Regions from separate parts of the Homo sapiens genome. Here regions 1, 2, 3 and 5 are each linked to region 4. Evidence: promoter capture Hi-C in 16 types of primary human blood cells and fetal thymus (Javierre and others, 2016). All regions are on one chromosome and are shown on one strand. Each heading gives the region's core, a stretch centred on a gene start or on the middle of the fragment in contact. The rest is flanking DNA. Distances are from core to core; before and after follow the strand shown.

Region 1 (3,105 bases), core at 424-2,923, 710 kb before region 4:
CCGTCAGGAGGGAAAGAGGCGGGATCCAGCCTGGACTCCTCCCAGGAGATCCATGACCTCAGAGTGGACCTCAGAGGAGGCCTCGTCCTGTCTAGGGTGCGGGACTGGTGCCGGGCCAATCACCTTACAGGCCTAGGGTCGCTGCAAGCTCCCAGCAGCGCTGGGAGAAAGATGCAAACATCACCTCTGTTAAACCAGTGGGAGTTTCAGTGTCCGGCCCGAGGTCACCCAGCTAATGAGGGGAGTCAATCAAACCCAGGGGGCGGGGCTACAGCGCTGAACCCTTGCAGCAGCTTCCTAAGGAGCAGAGAAATTGAGCCACTTGCCAGAGGTCACACAGTTGGTCTCTGCAGGGACTGGGATCTGAAATCAAACATCCTGGCAGCGCTCCCGCTGGCAGGGCCCCACTTTGTCAGCTGTAAATGGGGCCCTCGGCCCCTGCGTCGTTTTTGTTTTTTGTTTTTTGAGACGGAGTCTAGCTCTGTCGCCCAGGCTGGAGTGTAGTGGTGCAATCTCTGTTCACTGCAGCCTCCACCTCGCAGGTTCAAGCAATTCTCCTGCCTCAGCCTCCCTAGTAGCTGGGATTCCAGGTGCGCACCACCACGCCCAGCTAATTTTTGTAGTTTTAGTGGAGATAGAGTTTCACCGTGTTGCCCTGGCTGGCCTTGAACTCCTGACCTCAAATGATCAGCCAGCCTCGGCCTCCCAAAGTGCTGGAATTACAGGCGTGAGCTGCTGCGCCCGGCCAGTCCCTGCGTCACTTGAGGCGATGCTGTCCTCAGATCCCTGGCTCAGAGTTGGCACTCAGCCCATGTGAATGGAGGTCACGGCTGTTTTGGTCTTTGCATTGTGGATGATGTCAGGCCAGAGGCCTCTCCCCTGCCCTGGGAAAGGTGGGGAAACTGAAGGCAGGGCTGCCTGGCCTAAGACAGAGTTACCCCCACAGCCAGCTGCGCAGACTGAGATGTTGCAGGACCCCTCTTGGCTCACCCTCGGCTGCATAGAAGGCCTCGAACCCCGTGAACGGCTTCTCGTTGGAGTAGTCGGAGCGGAAGGTAATGTCCAGGCTGGAGCCCAGCGAGTAGAAAGTGTCCTTGCCAGGGGCCCGCTCCGTGTCTGTGCTCTCCTGCCCGCACAGCGTGGCCAGCACCTTGGCCCCCGAGCTCAGCTGTGGGGTCAGGTGTCACAGGGAGTGAAGGCAAGACCCAGGCCTGATCTCCCTCCTGGCCAAGCCTGGCCCCTGCTCCCAGGTGTCCCTGAACCCTGGCTACTCCTTGGGGACCCCCCGACCCTGAGAAACCCCAGCCCTCCCGTCCTGACGGCACCTTGACGAAGTCGTACTCGCAGAGGTGGGAGAGCTCCAGGTCGAAGTGGGTGAAGTAGAGGCGCAGGCGGTAGCCGGGGGGTGCAGTCAGGGTCCAGCGCCGCTCCTGGTCATTGGCATACTCCCCTGGAAAGCCGGGGGATGCCAGGCGCCCGAACACAGGTTCAGGCCACTTCGGGCCCAAGGGGGTGGCCACCGAGCCACACAGAAGGCCCAGGAGGGTCAGCAGCCTATGGGCAGGGCAGGGGCGGTGAGGGCCCAGGCCTGTGCTCCCACCCCACACCCTGCAGGGAGGCTGTGGGCGCCCACCTACCTCATGGTGTGCCCGTCCAGCTGGCCTGGCCTGGTCTGCAGCCCTACGCTGGTCTCACCTTTGATCTGTTTGTCCAGTGACCTGCCCCTGCCCCCAGCCTCCCTGACTCTGGGATTCTGGGAATCGACTCCATGACTCCAGCCTGCTCAGAGTTCCAGGCAGGCAGGACAGGCTGCTCTGGGAGCCAGGAGTCGGACCTAGGTAACAACAGCCTGGAAACAAATCCTGGCTCTGCCCCTCACCCCTCCCTTTTTTTTGGATCTTGTTCTGTTGCCCCGGCTTCAGTGCAGTGCTGCAATCATAGCTCACTGCAGCCTCTACTTCCTGTGTTCAAGCAATCCTCCCACCTCAGCCTCCCAAGTAGCTGGGATTACAGGCGAGCACCACCACACCTGGCTAATTTTTTATTTTTGGTAGGGATGGGGTTTCTCCATGTTGGTCAGGCTGGTCTTGAACTCCTGCCCTCAGGTGATCCACCTGCCTTAGCCTCCCAAAGTGCTGGGATTACAGGTGTGAGCCACCGTGCCCAGCCTCAGGCTGGCTAATTTCTTAAACCCTGTCAGAAGGACCTGGTGCCACCAATTCCCGATTCCCTTGCAGGCTTAGAAGTCGCTTTTGGCTGGGCTCGGTGGCTTATACCTGTAATCCCAGCACTTTGGGAGGCCAAGGTGGGTGGATCACGAGGTTGGGAGTTTGAGACCAGCCTGACCAACATGGTGAAATCCCATCTCTACTAAAAATACAAAAATCATCCAGGTGTGGCAGCGCGCACTTATAATCCCAGCTACTCGGGAGGCTGAGGCAGGAGAATTGCTTGAGCCTGGGAGGCGGAGGTTGCAGTGATCCGAGATCGCACCACTGCACTCCAGCCTGGACGACAGAGTGAGACTCCACCTCAAAAAAAAAAAAAAAAAAAAAGAAGTTGCTTTCCAGGCAGTTATTTCACACCTGTTTATCTGTTCTTCCAGCTTCCAGAACTTTGAGGCTGCTGCTTCCTCTTCCACACTCTGTCCTCATGGATTCATGTCTTGTCTTTTTTTTTTTTTTATCCCCTTTATATTTGTTTTTGTTTTTTGTAGAGATGGGGGTCTCCCTGTGTTGCCCAGGCTGGTCTTGAACTCCTGAGCCAAAGCGATGCACCTGCCTCAGCCTCGCAAAGTGCTGGGATTACAGGTGTGAGCCACCAAACCTCTGCCTCCGGGGTTCGAGCAATTCTCCTGCCTCAGCCTCCCGAGTAGCTGGGATTACAGGCATGCGCCACCACGTCCGGCTAGTTTTGTATTTTTAGTAGAGACGGAGTTTCTCCATGTTGGTCAGGCTGGTCTCGAACTCCCAACCACAGGTGATCCACCCGCCTCAGCCTCCCAAAGTGCTGGGATTACAGGCGTGAGCCACCATGCCTGGCCTATTTTCTTTTAGAGACCGGGACTCTGGCTGGGTGTAGTGACTCCTGCCCATAATCCCAGGA
Region 2 (3,510 bases), core at 318-2,817, 570 kb before region 4:
CAGCTGGGCTAGACATTTGCAAAAAGAGAGCAGACTGGCAGACAGTGCCAATTCTCAACAGAATCTTTTGATTAGAATGCCAAGTTGCTATAAGGGTATCAGTAACATCCTCACCCTTTAGCAGGCAAAGGAGGCTGGGTATGTGAGAAAACAAACTCTGATCCACCTGATCCTCCACTGCTTTTTGATTCTGAGAAAAAAAAAAATTGTTCAGTAACTCCAGCTGCCTGAACAGAAATTACTTTCTGAGGAGCTAGAAGCCCTGACTGGAAAAGAGCTCTGGGGGATTATGGCATGGGAGGAGAGCTGTCAGGCATCAGGCTTATGTGGGAAGGACCCACGCTGACTACAACAGTACAAGTAACTGCCTGAGTGGCTCCATAACATGGAAACAGCAATCGTATGTTCCAAAGACAGAGTTACTGTTTTAAGGACAGAGGAACCTTTGTATAGATTCTTAGTGAAAAGCTTATTTTAAGGATGTTTGCTGAAACTCCATGTTTTTCACATTTCTTTTCAAAAGAGCATTGTCCTTCATATATAGTACATGAAAAATTACAATATTCATGTTTTTTAGATACAAAGTCATATACAAATAGAGGAGGAATAATTTCAAATTGCAAACCATACCAGCAAAGAAAGAGGGAAATGAGACTCTAGATATGGATTTATTAGGTGACAGGGATTCTTTTCTCTATATTTTAATATATTTTCCAAGTTTTGAACCACGGGCTAAGGATGGGCCTGTTCTCTGTCCTGCCTAGAAACTGACAGAAGCATGGGTGACCAATCCCAGACATGCTTGGCACTGCTGAGTTTTCATCTCTGTTGTAATCTTCTGACACCTCCTTGCAAAATATCAAGTGTTATATGCTAATACTGGCCCTCTCTTTGTTGAAGGAGAAAGCATGTAAAAAGACAACTGTCCAAACCCTGTGGCTACAAAGTCTTTTTTTGGCTTCCTAAGAGATTTACTCTATTCTTCTATTTCTAGAACTTTTCTAAGTTGGAAGATTTCAAATGTGAGATAGTGTTAGATCCAGGTTGAGTAAGGATTTTATAAAATACTAAATAATGATCAGAGATGGGAATAATCAGCCTAGATAAAAGCATATTCAGCAGGATGTCAAAATATACCAGATCCTCATATAAACAGCATGGATTACATTAACAGGCCTCCCTGGGTGAGTAGCGTCTCTTTCGCCTACCTTACGCTCACCCCATGGTTATATAACCTTTTGAACGGAATTTGGAAATTCTTCTGACCCTGTCCTGCTTGCTGATAGAGTTGAGCCAGTGGCTGGCAGGGGCATAATCTAATAGGCGAAACTGGAAACACACAAATTCACAGTCCTCTTGTCTTAGCCCAGAGACTGTACAGGCAAGGAAAGAAAGACTCGCCCCATCTCCCTCCTCCCCTCCTCTGGCCTAAGTTGCCGCTGACTTCACCCAACAGGCACCTGACCCTCCCAGATGAGCTGGGAGGGGCTAAAGCCTGGTGCAGCCATGGTAGGGGTGGAGGTACAGGCAGCAAACAATATTTAAGATGCTGACTTGTGGAGCATTCGGGCTTGGAAGGAAAGCTATAGGCTACCCATTCAGCTCCCCTGTCAGAGACTCAAGCTTTGAGAAAGGCTAGCAAAGAGCAAGGAAAGAGAGAAAACAACAAAGTGGCGAGGCCCTCAGAGTGAAAGCGTAAGGTTCAGTCAGCCTGCTGCAGCTTTGCAGACCTCAGCTGGGCATCTCCAGACTCCCCTGAAGGAAGAGCCTTCCTCACCCAAACCCACAAAAGATGCTGAAAAAGCCTCTCTCAGCTGTGACCTGGCTCTGCATTTTCATCGTGGCCTTTGTCAGCCACCCAGCGTGGCTGCAGAAGCTCTCTAAGCACAAGACACCAGCACAGCCACAGCTCAAAGCGGCCAACTGCTGTGAGGAGGTGAAGGAGCTCAAGGCCCAAGTTGCCAACCTTAGCAGCCTGCTGAGTGAACTGAACAAGAAGCAGGAGAGGGACTGGGTCAGCGTGGTCATGCAGGTGATGGAGCTGGAGAGCAACAGCAAGCGCATGGAGTCGCGGCTCACAGATGCTGAGAGCAAGTACTCCGAGATGAACAACCAAATTGACATCATGCAGCTGCAGGCAGCACAGACGGTCACTCAGACCTCCGCAGGTAAGGAGACCAGTCCCCTGAGGGAGCGTGGAGTGCCTCCCCATCTACAGCACTGCTTCTACATATCCTGGTCATCAGAACCACTACTGGGGCCTCTTTTGTGGGTACACTTTCCCTTTAGTAAAGGCTTATGCAGTATTTCCTTTGACTTCTAATGCTATGTAAGTTTACCTAACACCTTCACGGGTCTCTTTTATCCACACAGTGTTTCAGCCTACCATCTTGGAGTGCTGAGATACTACATGGTTTGCCCAAAGTCACCCAGCAAGTCTTAGAAGCAGGGTTCAAGTCTTCCTGATTGGTGTAGCTCTGCTACTTCCTCACCAAGAGCTGACAGGCTATATCTCAAGAAATTCCAAGGAAGCACCAAACTGTAACAGCTGTTCCTCTGGAAGCAAAGTTTTGCCAGAAACAGTTCTCTGGTGTTCCTAAGATTTACCAGGAATGAGCATTAATGGAATTTTGTGTCCTCTCTCTGTAAACGTAACTCTTCTCATTGGCTCAGAGTTAAGTGTAGAGACACATAACCATGTGAAGAGTCCCTTTGTGTTCAGGAAGGATGCGGCTCCTTAAGGTTCCTCAATTGTGATACGTCTATTTTTTTCCATGGTCTTAAATGAATTTCTCCGAATACAGGATTTTTTAAATGCAATGCTGAAATATAGACTTAATAGGCCAAAAATAAGATAAATTTAATCTTTCTTTTGCAAAATAACTTTTATTTCTGGTTAGCTCAGCTCAGGTGGGCCAACATGAATTTACGGTTTAGAGATAAAAATTTGGTTTTCTGAAATTATCAGGAAAATATTAGTTGTAAGGAGCATATCCTATAGACATGTCATTTCTTGCTGATATAAAAACCATTGGTCCCATTATAAACTACATGAAGAACAAAGACATGATCAGCTTCTACTGACTAAGTCAATGGTTAACCTCAGCTCAAATTAAGAAAAAGTTTTAACATGAAACCAAGCTTGAAAATTCTGTTACCTGAACCAACATGTATCAATCACTTTCTAAGCATGGACTTCCGGGCCCTCAGTTTGGGATTAGAAAGGTATTCTCAGGCCATTTTCCAGACAAGTGAGTCCTGATTTGGTCTGTGAGATGAAACCAGACATGCGGAAGACCAGGCCAGACAGAGGAATCTGACCGTGCCACTTCCTGCTCATCCAAACAGGAGGCTTTCTCACCATCCTGCAAGGAGGTTCTTGGGGTCAAGTGCAGCTCTCCCACCAGGTCTCTTGCTCTTCTTGCCCAGGACATCATTCCTTATTTTTCTTCTCTATGACCAAGTGCTCAGTTACCCTTATATTCTATAAGTAGGTAGTCCCTTAGAGGA
Region 3 (3,564 bases), core at 509-3,008, 620 kb before region 4:
AGTACCCTTAACCTGAGATTCTATCAGCAAATCTCCGTTGTGTTTCACAGTGGATTTGGCTGTGGCTTGCAGGGAAGTTAAAATGTATCAGAAGGCCAGGCATGGTGGCTCATGCCTGTAATCCCAGAACTTTGGGAGCAGAAGCAGGCAGAACTCCTTTTTTTTTGGAGATGGAGTATCATTCTGTCCCTCAGGCTGGAGTGCAGTGGCGCAATCTTGGCTCACTGCAACCTCTGCCTCCCAGGTCCAAGCGATTCTCCTGCCTCAGCCTCCCAAGGAGCTGGGATTACAGGTGTGCGCCACCACGCCTGGCTAATTTTTGTATTTTTTTCTTTTAGCAGAGAGGGGGTTTCTCTATGTTGGCCAGGCTAAGTCTCAAACTCCTGACCTCAAGCAATCCACCTGCCTCAGCCTCCCAAAGTGCTGGGATTACAGGTGTGAGCCACCATGCCTGGCCAAGTGAACTCCTTTTTCATCCTTGTTGATAAGAAGTCAGACTCAGAAGGGGAGTTCCTGAGATCTACTGCTTCATGGTAAATTCCATGAACCCATGGAGCTGTCCTCCATGGAGATAAACTTAAAAGTCTAGCGACAATGATCTCAGGCTTTTAGCTATGATAAGATGCAGTCTGAGCCTGACTGGAGAACCCAAGGCTAGAAGAGACCCAGCGCCAGTAAGGCTGACCTCTCTAACTGCCCTATGGGAGGGTCTTAGGAACCAAAAGCATTGGTGCAACTCCAAAGAAAAGTAACAAACATGTATTTTTCCACTACTATAATACTGGTTGGGGATTTTAATTTAAATGATTTGACCACAAAATGGCAGTTTTCTAGCCCCAGCAGTTCATTTGACAGCAAGCCATCCACAAGAGCCAAATTTCCACTATAAATGTAATGCTTTACTTTCAGGCCTTGGACCACATTTTTCCATCCCATGAAGTGTGACAACAATGATTTCGAAAGTTAAAATAACAGAAAAAAGTACACTGAGTGATTGTTTTTTGTGACTTCTCACCAATAGTTAGGTTCTCCCAGATGCTGAAATAATTTGGCCTCCTGTAAGCCAAAAAGCATCTTGCTGCCTCAAGATAGGAAAGTCACGAAGGCTTAAGGTGGTGGCAGTGTCCTGGACCCAGTAAAGTCAGACAGGCATCTCTCTTCCCAGGACTCATTCCATGCCTCCCCTCTCCTCTAAGTCTACATTTGGATCAAGTCCCACTTGTCAGACTGTCAGAAGGTTCATCAGATCTCTGCTGTAGAAACTCTTTATTATAGGCATTTCAAAGAATTGGGGTGTGTACAAATCAAGTGGGAAATGCTTATTTGTGGAATTCTTTCTGGTGCCCAGGAGACAATTTTCCATCAAAACATTCACTGGGCATTTCATAATTACTAATAAAACATGTAAAAGAACTGTATGTGCTCATTTCAGAGCCATAAATGACTGTATTCATAGATGTTCCTTTGCCCATTGCTCTTTCCTGTCCAGGGGAATGTGCCCTGAGCTTCCTAGGCAGGAATGTGTTTGGAGTCAAAAGGTTTTGTCGCAGCCTACTGAGACGCCTGGAAGCACAAACTTCGATTGGTCTGAAGCGAGAATTTGGAATTAGCAATTAGGTGGGGATCTAGTTGAGAGGAAATGGTTTATAATTGCGGGGATGGATTATGATAGGTAGGGAGACAAATGGTTTCTGGAGTGGTAAAGGCTTTCTCTCTTTTTTCTTTTGCTGATGAACTTCCTATCCTACCCACTCAAGGAATGGGATAACTGGCCATCCTTCCCAGAACATTTAGACTCCTGACTCCCAGACCTGGAGTGACAGTTTCTCATGTTAAAATGATCAGAATGTGAGAATGAAAACACTGATGGAGGACTTGGGAAAGCTTCTTCTCTACAAGCGGAAACTGCAGTGGAAAAAAAGTCTCAATAGAGGCGACAGGATGACTCTGACCTAAGTAGCTATAAATAGCAGGAGTTGGCCAATGAGAACCTAAGGCAACCCCATCTGAAAAGCTGGTGCAGGTGGCCTCCAAGTGTAGTTAGAGCAGTGGTTCTTAGCTTTGGCTGGTGGAATCATCTGGGGGAACCTGAAAAGATACTGATCCTGAGTCTCTCCCCAGAAATTTAATTGGCCTGGGGAATAGCCTGGGCATCAGGATTTTAAAAAGCTCTGCAGGTGATTCTACTGTGCTGCTAAGGTTGAGAACCACTGATTTTGAGGTTATGATTCCTAACTGACTGGTCACAGGTGTCACTTACTAAAAAACATTTTTTTTAATTCCTAGAGAAGAGAATAAGAAGAGACTGGAAAATTGGTCATTCTCTCACAGCTTAAGTTTAGGTGAGGAGCCTTTGAGTATTCTGCTTTGTATGCAAGCCAAGCAATACACTGGTGGAGGAGGCAGGAAAAGCAAGTTGAGTAAGAGCCAGGGTGGAGGGGGGCACTCACCCAGGTCCTGGAAGGGGTAGGGGTAGGTGGGTGAACTGGGGCTTTCTACCAAGCTCACCTGCAGTCTCTCCCACCAGATCTGGCGGATGATCTCTCGTCGCTCGGGGACAAGTTTGTACTGGATAACCTCCTCCAGCTCGGACAGCATGTGGCAAGAAACCATGGCCTGATGGAAGCAAATCGCATTCCAAACTAATTACTGCACGAACAATCCAAAAGACAGGATTAATTTAAATCATTCCTTCTGGTGTCAGGGTATCTGCCGATCAGAGAAAACAGGCATGTTTCCAGCAGCCTGTAAGTTCTCAATAGCCCATTCTGAAAAAAGTATGGAAATAAGCCTCAAAAATGACAATGTGCAGAATAGTTGACACTTACCCCATATGCCCGACTGTAACTCTCTCCTGCCATCGCAGTTAATTCAGCATCCAGCAGGTCCCTGGCCTTGTCAATGCACTAGAAGAGAAACAACCCTTGGGACTGAGCTCTGGACTTGGGAGCTTAGGGTTATTTTAGGGCACCCCAACTAGCTACAGAAGTTATCTGTCTCACTTAAATTCCAGGGATGAAAAGAGAAATTCGCTGAAGAAGGGCATTTTCCCAGAACTGAATGGCTTGAGAGGAGGTATTATCCAATTTCTCATCGAAGACAGAAATGTATGGCATCCAAAACTTTAACATCTATCTAAGGTAACACACAAAATCTTAGGTGGCAAGGGCATGGGAATGTGGGCTGTAAAACCGAATCATGGGTTCTTGCATCTCAAGAGGACATAACTGGGGATCTACCTTTTTTTTTTCTTCTGAGACACAGTCTCACTCTGTCACCCAGGCTGGAGTGCAGTGGTGTGATCTTGGCTCACTGCAGTCTCCACCTCCCGGGTTCAAGTGATTCTCTTGCCTCAGCCTCCCAAGTAGCTGGGATGCTGGGGTTACAGGCGCCCGCCACCACGCCCAGCTAATTTTTGTATTTTTAGTAGAGATAGGGTTTCTCCATGTTGGTTCAAGCGATTCTCTTGCCTCAGCCTCCCAAGTAGCTGGGATGCTGGGGTTACAGGCGCCCGCCACCACGCCCAGCTAATTTTTGTATTTTTAGTAGAGATAGGGTTTCACC
Region 4 (3,129 bases), core at 64-2,563:
CTCAGGCTGGAGTGCAATGGCAGGATCTTGGCTCTCTGCAACCCTTGCCTCCCAGGTTCAAGTGATTCTCCTGCCTCAGCCTCCTGAGTAGCTGGGATTACAGGTGCCCGCCACCATGCCCGGCTAATTTTTGTATTTTTAGTAGAGACAGGGTTTCACCATGTTGGCCAGGCTGGTCTTGAACTCCTGATCTTGTGATCCGTCCACCTCAGCCTCCCAAAGTGCTGGGATTACAGGTGTGAGCCACTGTGCCTAGCCTTTCTTTCTTTCTTTCTTTTAACAAGAAATTTGTTATAGTTTTATTTTCCTTTGCATTTGCAAAATACTTAGGACCAACATGAAAAAGAAATACCTTCTATGGGGAAAAAAATGGCATTAAAAAGGAAGATGGGAAGGCTGAAAGGGATTTGTGCCTTAGTTGCAAGGAGCTGCAGCATCTCTGGTCCAAGGAATCAAAAAGATATTGGGAAGATATAACAGGAGGAAGAAGAATGTGAATTTACTGAGGGAGAGGGCCCCAAAGTGGGCCTTGAGGGGGAACTGGAGGCCCCGGAGTGGGTCTGGGTGGAGGGAGAGTCCCCCCCGGAAGCCATAGGGTGGGTGTTGGGGAGGGCCAGTGTATCCATGAGGCAGCATCGGTGGAGGAGGTCCACACATACCATGGAGGCATAGGACGTGAGTGACCCATGGGAGATCCAGACCGAGACCCCTTGGGGGACATGCTCATTGGAGGAGGTCCAGGATGAGGCATTCCAGGTGGTGATCAGGGTGGTGGCTGCCCCCCAGATCCTGGGGTCCCATCACGGGTGTGTCCTCAGCCATGAGGGCCATGGTTTGCCAGCTGCATCTGAGACATCCCTGGATGGGACATCGCACCTATTGGGAACGGGTGAGGATGTGAGTGTCCATGACCCGGATGTCCTGCCCCTGGGGTTCCTACCAGTGGGAGCCGGGGGCATGTCCTGCAGCCCCAAGAGGCATAGGTGGTGGGGACATGGCTGGGGGTATCCCAGATGTGCGGGGGCTCCAGGAGGCAGCTCTAGGTGCGGGAAGGAGCCAAGAGGAGGCACGCCTGGTGGAGGAAGCCCAGACCCCAGTGATGCTGCCACAGGATTCGGGGCAGAGGGTGGAGGAGGTTCCCGGGGACCTGATGGCCAAGAGAATGTCGCTCATCTTGCACGTGCAAAAGTTGCCCTGGGACCACGTGCCTTGCCTGCGGAGGACCCGGCAAAACCTGTACCAGGACGTCGGTGGCCACGCCCACGGCTCAGGGCTGGGCGGGGCCAAGCGCGGGGCAGCACGCTCTGCTCTCCGACGTCCCCTCCCGCCCGCGACCTGCCGACCTGCGGGGATCGTTAGCGGTCCCAGCCCCCGTCTAGATTCAAATCCGACTGGGTGAAGGAGGACCCGAGGAGGACCCACGCACGTGAGGGCAGATCCATGAGGGCAGGAAACTGACCTCAGACTCTTTTGGTGGCAAGAGGAGGGAGGCTGTGAGCCCCCTTAAGTGGACAGGGGTGGGGGTGGAGTGGGAGGGGGGAGTCTGAGGGAGACGGACGAGGAGCGGAGAAATGGACCGAAGAGCTCCGGCGTGAGGGGCAGGGGTGCAGGAAGGTCTCCTGTGGATTGAGCGGCCTCAAGTCAACTTGGGCAAGAGGGGATGGTGGGGTGTTCTTGGTTAGGAGTCTGCGCTGTGGAGCCAGCCCTGGGGTGCTCCCTCTGAGGCCTTGGGTGGGACAGGCCCTTCTAAGCTCCTGTCCTCATTTCTAAAACAGGGAACCTAAGTCCCAGGGCTGCAGTGCAGATTAAATGGCAGGACGCCTGCTGAAGGCTGCAAGGTGCCTAGCACGGTTGTCATTTATTCAATGTGCATTTACAAGCCCCTGCTGGGGGTCAGGCATTGTTCTATGGGCTGCAAATCCAGCAGGGAAACAAACAAACAAAAAAAACCAGCCTGCCCTCGTGTGGCTCCTAGGCCACTGGAGGGAGAAATACACTAATTTCTTCACTATGTTAGGTGGCCGCAAGTGCAGGGCAAAGAGAGTGAGGAGAGGCCAGGTTGCTGCAGTTGGAGAGACAGTGGGCAGGGAGGGCTCACTGTGATGTGGGAGGCAAGACTTGAAGGCAGAGGGGACAGCAGCACAGAGGCGCTGAGGTGAGGTCGTGTGTGCCATTTGGAGGAGCAGCCAGGGGGCTGGTGTGTGTGGAGGACAGTGGGCAAGGGGAAGAGGAATTGGGGAGGACCATAACTGGCAGCCAGATTTTAAAGACTTTGCGGGGCTGGGTGTGGTGGCTCACGCCTGTAATCCCAGCACTTTGGGAGGCCGAGGCGGGCCAATCACCTGAGGTCAGGAGTTCGAGACCATCCTGGCCATCATGGTGAAACCCTGTCTCTACCAAAAAATAGAAAAATTAGTCTGGCGTGGTGGCATGTGCCTGTGGTTCCAGCTTGTTAGAGGCTGAGGTGGGAGGATCCCTTGAGCCCAGGGAGGCAGGCGGAGGTTGCAGTGAGCCGGGATCACGCCATTGTACCAGCCTGGGTGGCAAAGTGAGACTCCGGCTCAAAAAAAAAAAAAAAAAGGTTTTGCAGCCTAAGGTATCTTGCAGCTATTGAGCTCTGCTATTGCAGCTGGAAAGCAGACAGTCTGTAAACAAATGGGCTTTGTTTCAATATAACTTTATTCACATAATAGACCACTGGCCCAGGCAGTAATTTGCTAACCTCTGGCCTACAGCCTTGAAGGCTCACGGGGCATTGAGGGGGCTGGAGAGCTTCTGTGGCATTAGAGTTGAGGCAGGGCATGATTTGATTTCAGTGTTTACAGGATCACCCTGCCGCCGCATGAAGAGGAGGCTGTCGGGCGTGAGGACGAGGCAGAATAAGGGTGACCAGTTGGGAGGTGGCAGGTGAGGGCCACTCCGCCCAGTGCTCCAGGGGTCAGATCCTGGATGCGTGTGGGAGGCAGAGCCTGTCAGAGCAGCCACTGGTGTGAGGGAGAAGGGGAATCGGGGTGGCTCCAGGATTTTTGTTTGAGCCACCAGAAGGCCGGAGCTGCCATCCGTGGAAAAGGGGGGCACCAAGATGGGAGAGAGCTGGTTGCGAGGACGGCTGGAGTTCAGTTTTGGACA
Region 5 (3,082 bases), core at 417-2,916, 780 kb before region 4:
GCTGCCTGGACACTGAGCCCAATGCGGAATTCCTCTCCCAGCAGCGGGGAGGCGCTATTATTAGTTGATTAATTTGCAAAACAAAAACCTGGCTGGGGCAATTGGTCTTGAAGGAAGGTTCTCCCAGAGCGAGTAAATCTGAGACAGGACCAGAAGAATAATCTTGGGGAAAAGGAAAGTGGCTGACTCTGGTGCTGAGTCCCGGCCTTGCCAGGGACCCCGACTCTGCTGTTACACAGGGAATGCTGTCTGGAATCGGCCCGGTGGCAGGTGGGGGGTAGACAGCTCTCCCCTCCGTCTGATGCCTGCTCCTGTTCTCCTCCTTGAGCATCAATCGGGAGAAAGATGTGGGTTTGGGTTTTTCCCCCTCACTTCTCAGACCCAGAACTGCCCCATCCCAGTCTGGGGGGAGACATGATGCTCCATCCCCCAAAGCTGAGCCCCCTCATGGGGCATCCAGGAGAAGGCAATGGGTCCCCAGGACAGGGCCCGGACCTCCCCCTTGCTCGCCCAGCCCCACAAAGCCCCACTCAGCTTCTCCACTGCCTTCATTGTCTACAGACTTCAACCTCACAAAACGCCCAACAAAAGCCCTGCAGTCCACGGCCCAAAGGCCACAAGCCAGCTATTGTGACATTCCAGCTGGCCTGGGAGGCTTCACTTCCCACTCTCAGGAGCTTTTTAAAGTATCTCTTAAAAATGCATCTCAGATGGGGAAAAGAGGTAGCAATTCTGTTGCCAAGGAAAATGAGATTTTGGCCAAGTGCAGTGAGTCATGCCCGTAATCCCAATACTTTGGGAGGCCGAGACAGGAGGATGGCTTGAACCCAGGAGTTTAAGACCAGCCTGGGCAACACAGTAAGACCCTGTCTCTACAAAAAAATTAAAAAATTACCAAAGTGTGGTGGCACATGCCTATGGTCCCAGCTACTCAGGAGGCTAAAGTGGGATGATCACTTGAGCCCAGGAGTTAAGAGATGACAGTGAACTATGATCTTGCCACTGCACTCCAGCCTGGGCAACAGAGCAAGACTCTATCTCAGGAAGAAGGAGAGACAGAGAGGGAGAGAGAGAGAGAAAGAGAAAAGAAAGGAAAGGGAAGGAAGGAAGGAGAAAGGAAGGAAGGCAGGGAGGGAAGGAAGGAAGGGAGGGAAGGAAGGAAAATGAAATTTTCTCCTAATCCTTACAATCGAATAGCTAGCGACCACAACTCCTATCATTTGAAAACTCCTTGAAATCAAGCATCTCTTGGTCAACTTGACCCCTAATTTGTTTTGTTTTAAGGACCCTCTAGGACAAGGAAGACGTGTTCTGTTTTCTCCCAATCTTCTGGAAATCCTTCCCAAGATGGGAGGACTGGAATTCCAGAACAAGGGATGACAGGAGCATGAGAAAGGTGGGAGAGACTGTGGCCGGACCTCACCTGAGAAAGTCAGCCCTTCCCAAGGCATCCATGCATCTGGGCCCCTCACCCATTTGGCCCCCTTCCCTCTTAGATGCAAGGCTTCTGATTCTGATGGAAGATATTTGGCTTCTTCAAGGAGTGTGGGCACACTAAGCATGCCACTGGCTTCTCCCAATTCCTGAATAAGGGACACTTACCAGGCAAGTGCTGGGGACCCCCACATCCTCAGGCCCAGCAGCTCTCTCCTGCCCTGGGAGAATTTAATCTGAAGCAGTTCCAAGCAACTAAACGAAAGGTTGGCTCCTCCCCTTCCCCTCCAGTGCAGGTCTCGGGTCACTCAGGTGCCAGAAAACACAGGTGGGTGTCAACACTCTCAGCTTCTCCCCATCCCTCTGCATGGGTGAGATGAATTGCTTCAGCCGTGGGAGCTCAAAATAAGATTGCGGATCAGAAGGCTGAAGATGAATTGATCCACTGAGGCTGGAGTGCAGGCCCTCATTCTCCGCTCCCGGGAGAAGCCTGTCTCTGTGCCCAAGGAAGGAAAGAAGCTAAGAAACTGAGCTTCACCGGAGGAACAGTCACGCTGTCTTGATGGGGCTTCCCAGAACCCTGCTCCAGGCCCCTCCTGGCAGAGTTCAAAAGGAGCTGAGGGGCCAGGCATGGTGGCTCATGCCTGTAACCCCAGCATTTTGGGATGCAGAGATGGGCAGATTGTTTGAGGTCAGGAGTTCGAAACAAGCCAGGGGAACATGGCAAGACCCTGTCTCTACAAAAAATTTAAAAACTAGCTGGGCATGGTGGCACACACCTGTGGTCCTAGCTACTCAGGAGGCTGAGGTGAGAGGATTGCTTGAGCCCAGGAGGTTGAGGCTGCAGTGAGCCCTGATTGTGCTACTGCACTCCAGCCTGGGCAACAGAACAAGACCCTGTCTAAAAAAAAAAAAAAAAGGGGCCGGGCACAGTCACTCATGCCCATAATCCCAGTGATTTGGGAGGGCGAGGCAGGCTGATCACCTGATGTCAGGACTTCGAGACCAGCCTGGCCAACATGGTGAAACCTTATCTCTACTAAAAATACAAAACTAGCCAGGTGTGGGGGTGCACGCCTGTAATCCCAGCTACTTGGGAAGTTAAGGCAGGAGAATTGCTTGAACCCGGGAGATGGAGGTTGCAGTGAGCCAAGATCGTACCATTGTACTGCAGCCTGGGTGACAAGAGCAAAACTCCGTCTAAAAAAAAAAAAAAAAAAAAAAAAAAAAAAAAAAAAAAAAAAAAAGACCAGGCGCAGTGACTCACGCCTGTAATCCTAGCACTTTGGGAGGCTGAGGTGGGTGGATCATCAGGTCAGGAGTTTGAGACCAGCCTGGCCAACATGGTGAAACCCTGTCTCTACCAAAAATACAAAAAATAGCCGGGCTTGGTGGTGGGCACCTGTAATCCCAGCTACTCTGGAGGCTGAGGCAGGAGAATCGCTTGAACCTGGAAGGCAGAGATTGCAGACAGCTGAGATCGTGCCATTGCACTCCAGCCTGGGCGATACAATAAGACTCCGTCTCAAAAAAAAAAAAAAAAAGGAAGAGGAGATTAGGGCACGGACACATACGGAGGAATGACGGTGTGAGGACACAGGGAGAAGATGGCCAGCTGTGAGCCAGAGAGGCAGCTCCGGAGAAACCA

Evidence for each region. Contacts are between HindIII fragments. The CHiCAGO score rates a contact against its expected background, and 5 or more counts as called.
Region 1: a contact is called between the fragment with the promoter of MASP2 here and the fragment with the promoter of C1orf167 in region 4, in 1 of 17 cell types (M2 macrophages). The highest score is 5.1, in M2 macrophages.
Region 2: a contact is called between the fragment with the promoter of ANGPTL7 here and the fragment with the promoter of C1orf167 in region 4, in 9 of 17 cell types (total B cells, naive B cells, total CD4 T cells and 6 more). The highest score is 8.9, in total B cells.
Region 3: a contact is called between the fragment with the promoter of MTOR-AS1 here and the fragment with the promoter of C1orf167 in region 4, in 17 of 17 cell types (naive CD8 T cells, total B cells, naive B cells and 14 more). The highest score is 18.3, in naive CD8 T cells.
Region 5: the fragment with the promoter of CIROZ here is called in contact with the fragment with the promoter of C1orf167 in region 4 in 12 of 17 cell types (total B cells, naive CD8 T cells, naive CD4 T cells and 9 more); the score reaches 12.0 in total B cells.

The regions. Positions count from the first base shown.
Region 1 is chr1:11,045,566-11,048,670 of GRCh38, forward strand. MASP2 (MBL associated serine protease 2) reads right to left here and starts at 1,674. Exons shown (of 11, transcript NM_006610.4): 1 at 1,638-1,674; 2 at 1,326-1,554; 3 at 991-1,168. The coding sequence starts at 1,642. RefSeq lists an enhancer at 179-1,011. The HindIII fragment of the contact is 27,395 bases long and covers 1-3,105 here.
Region 2 is chr1:11,187,788-11,191,297 of GRCh38, forward strand. It overlaps ANGPTL7 (angiopoietin like 7), which reads left to right and starts at 1,568. Exons shown (of 5, transcript NM_021146.4): 1 at 1,568-2,168. The coding sequence starts at 1,793. The region is part of intron 28 of MTOR (mechanistic target of rapamycin kinase); the gene reads right to left. RefSeq lists an enhancer at 1,921-2,421. The HindIII fragment of the contact is 1,155 bases long and covers 467-1,621 here.
Region 3 is chr1:11,142,140-11,145,703 of GRCh38, forward strand. It overlaps MTOR-AS1 (MTOR antisense RNA 1), which reads left to right and starts at 1,759. Exons shown (of 4, transcript NR_046600.1): 1 at 1,759-1,848; 2 at 2,528-2,747; 3 at 3,014-3,140. MTOR (mechanistic target of rapamycin kinase) reads right to left here. Exons shown (of 58, transcript NM_004958.4): 33 at 2,829-2,906; 34 at 2,509-2,616. The HindIII fragment of the contact is 11,786 bases long and covers 1-1,882 here.
Region 4 is chr1:11,760,880-11,764,008 of GRCh38, forward strand. C1orf167 (chromosome 1 open reading frame 167) reads left to right here and starts at 1,314. Exons shown (of 21, transcript NM_001010881.2): 1 at 1,314-1,426. It also overlaps the pseudogene LOC101060126. The HindIII fragment of the contact is 5,648 bases long and covers 1-3,129 here.
Region 5 is chr1:10,980,410-10,983,491 of GRCh38, forward strand. It overlaps CIROZ (ciliated left-right organizer protein containing ZP-N domains), which reads right to left and starts at 1,667. Exons shown (of 13, transcript NM_001170754.2): 1 at 1,603-1,667. The coding sequence starts at 1,628. The HindIII fragment of the contact is 7,392 bases long and covers 1-3,082 here.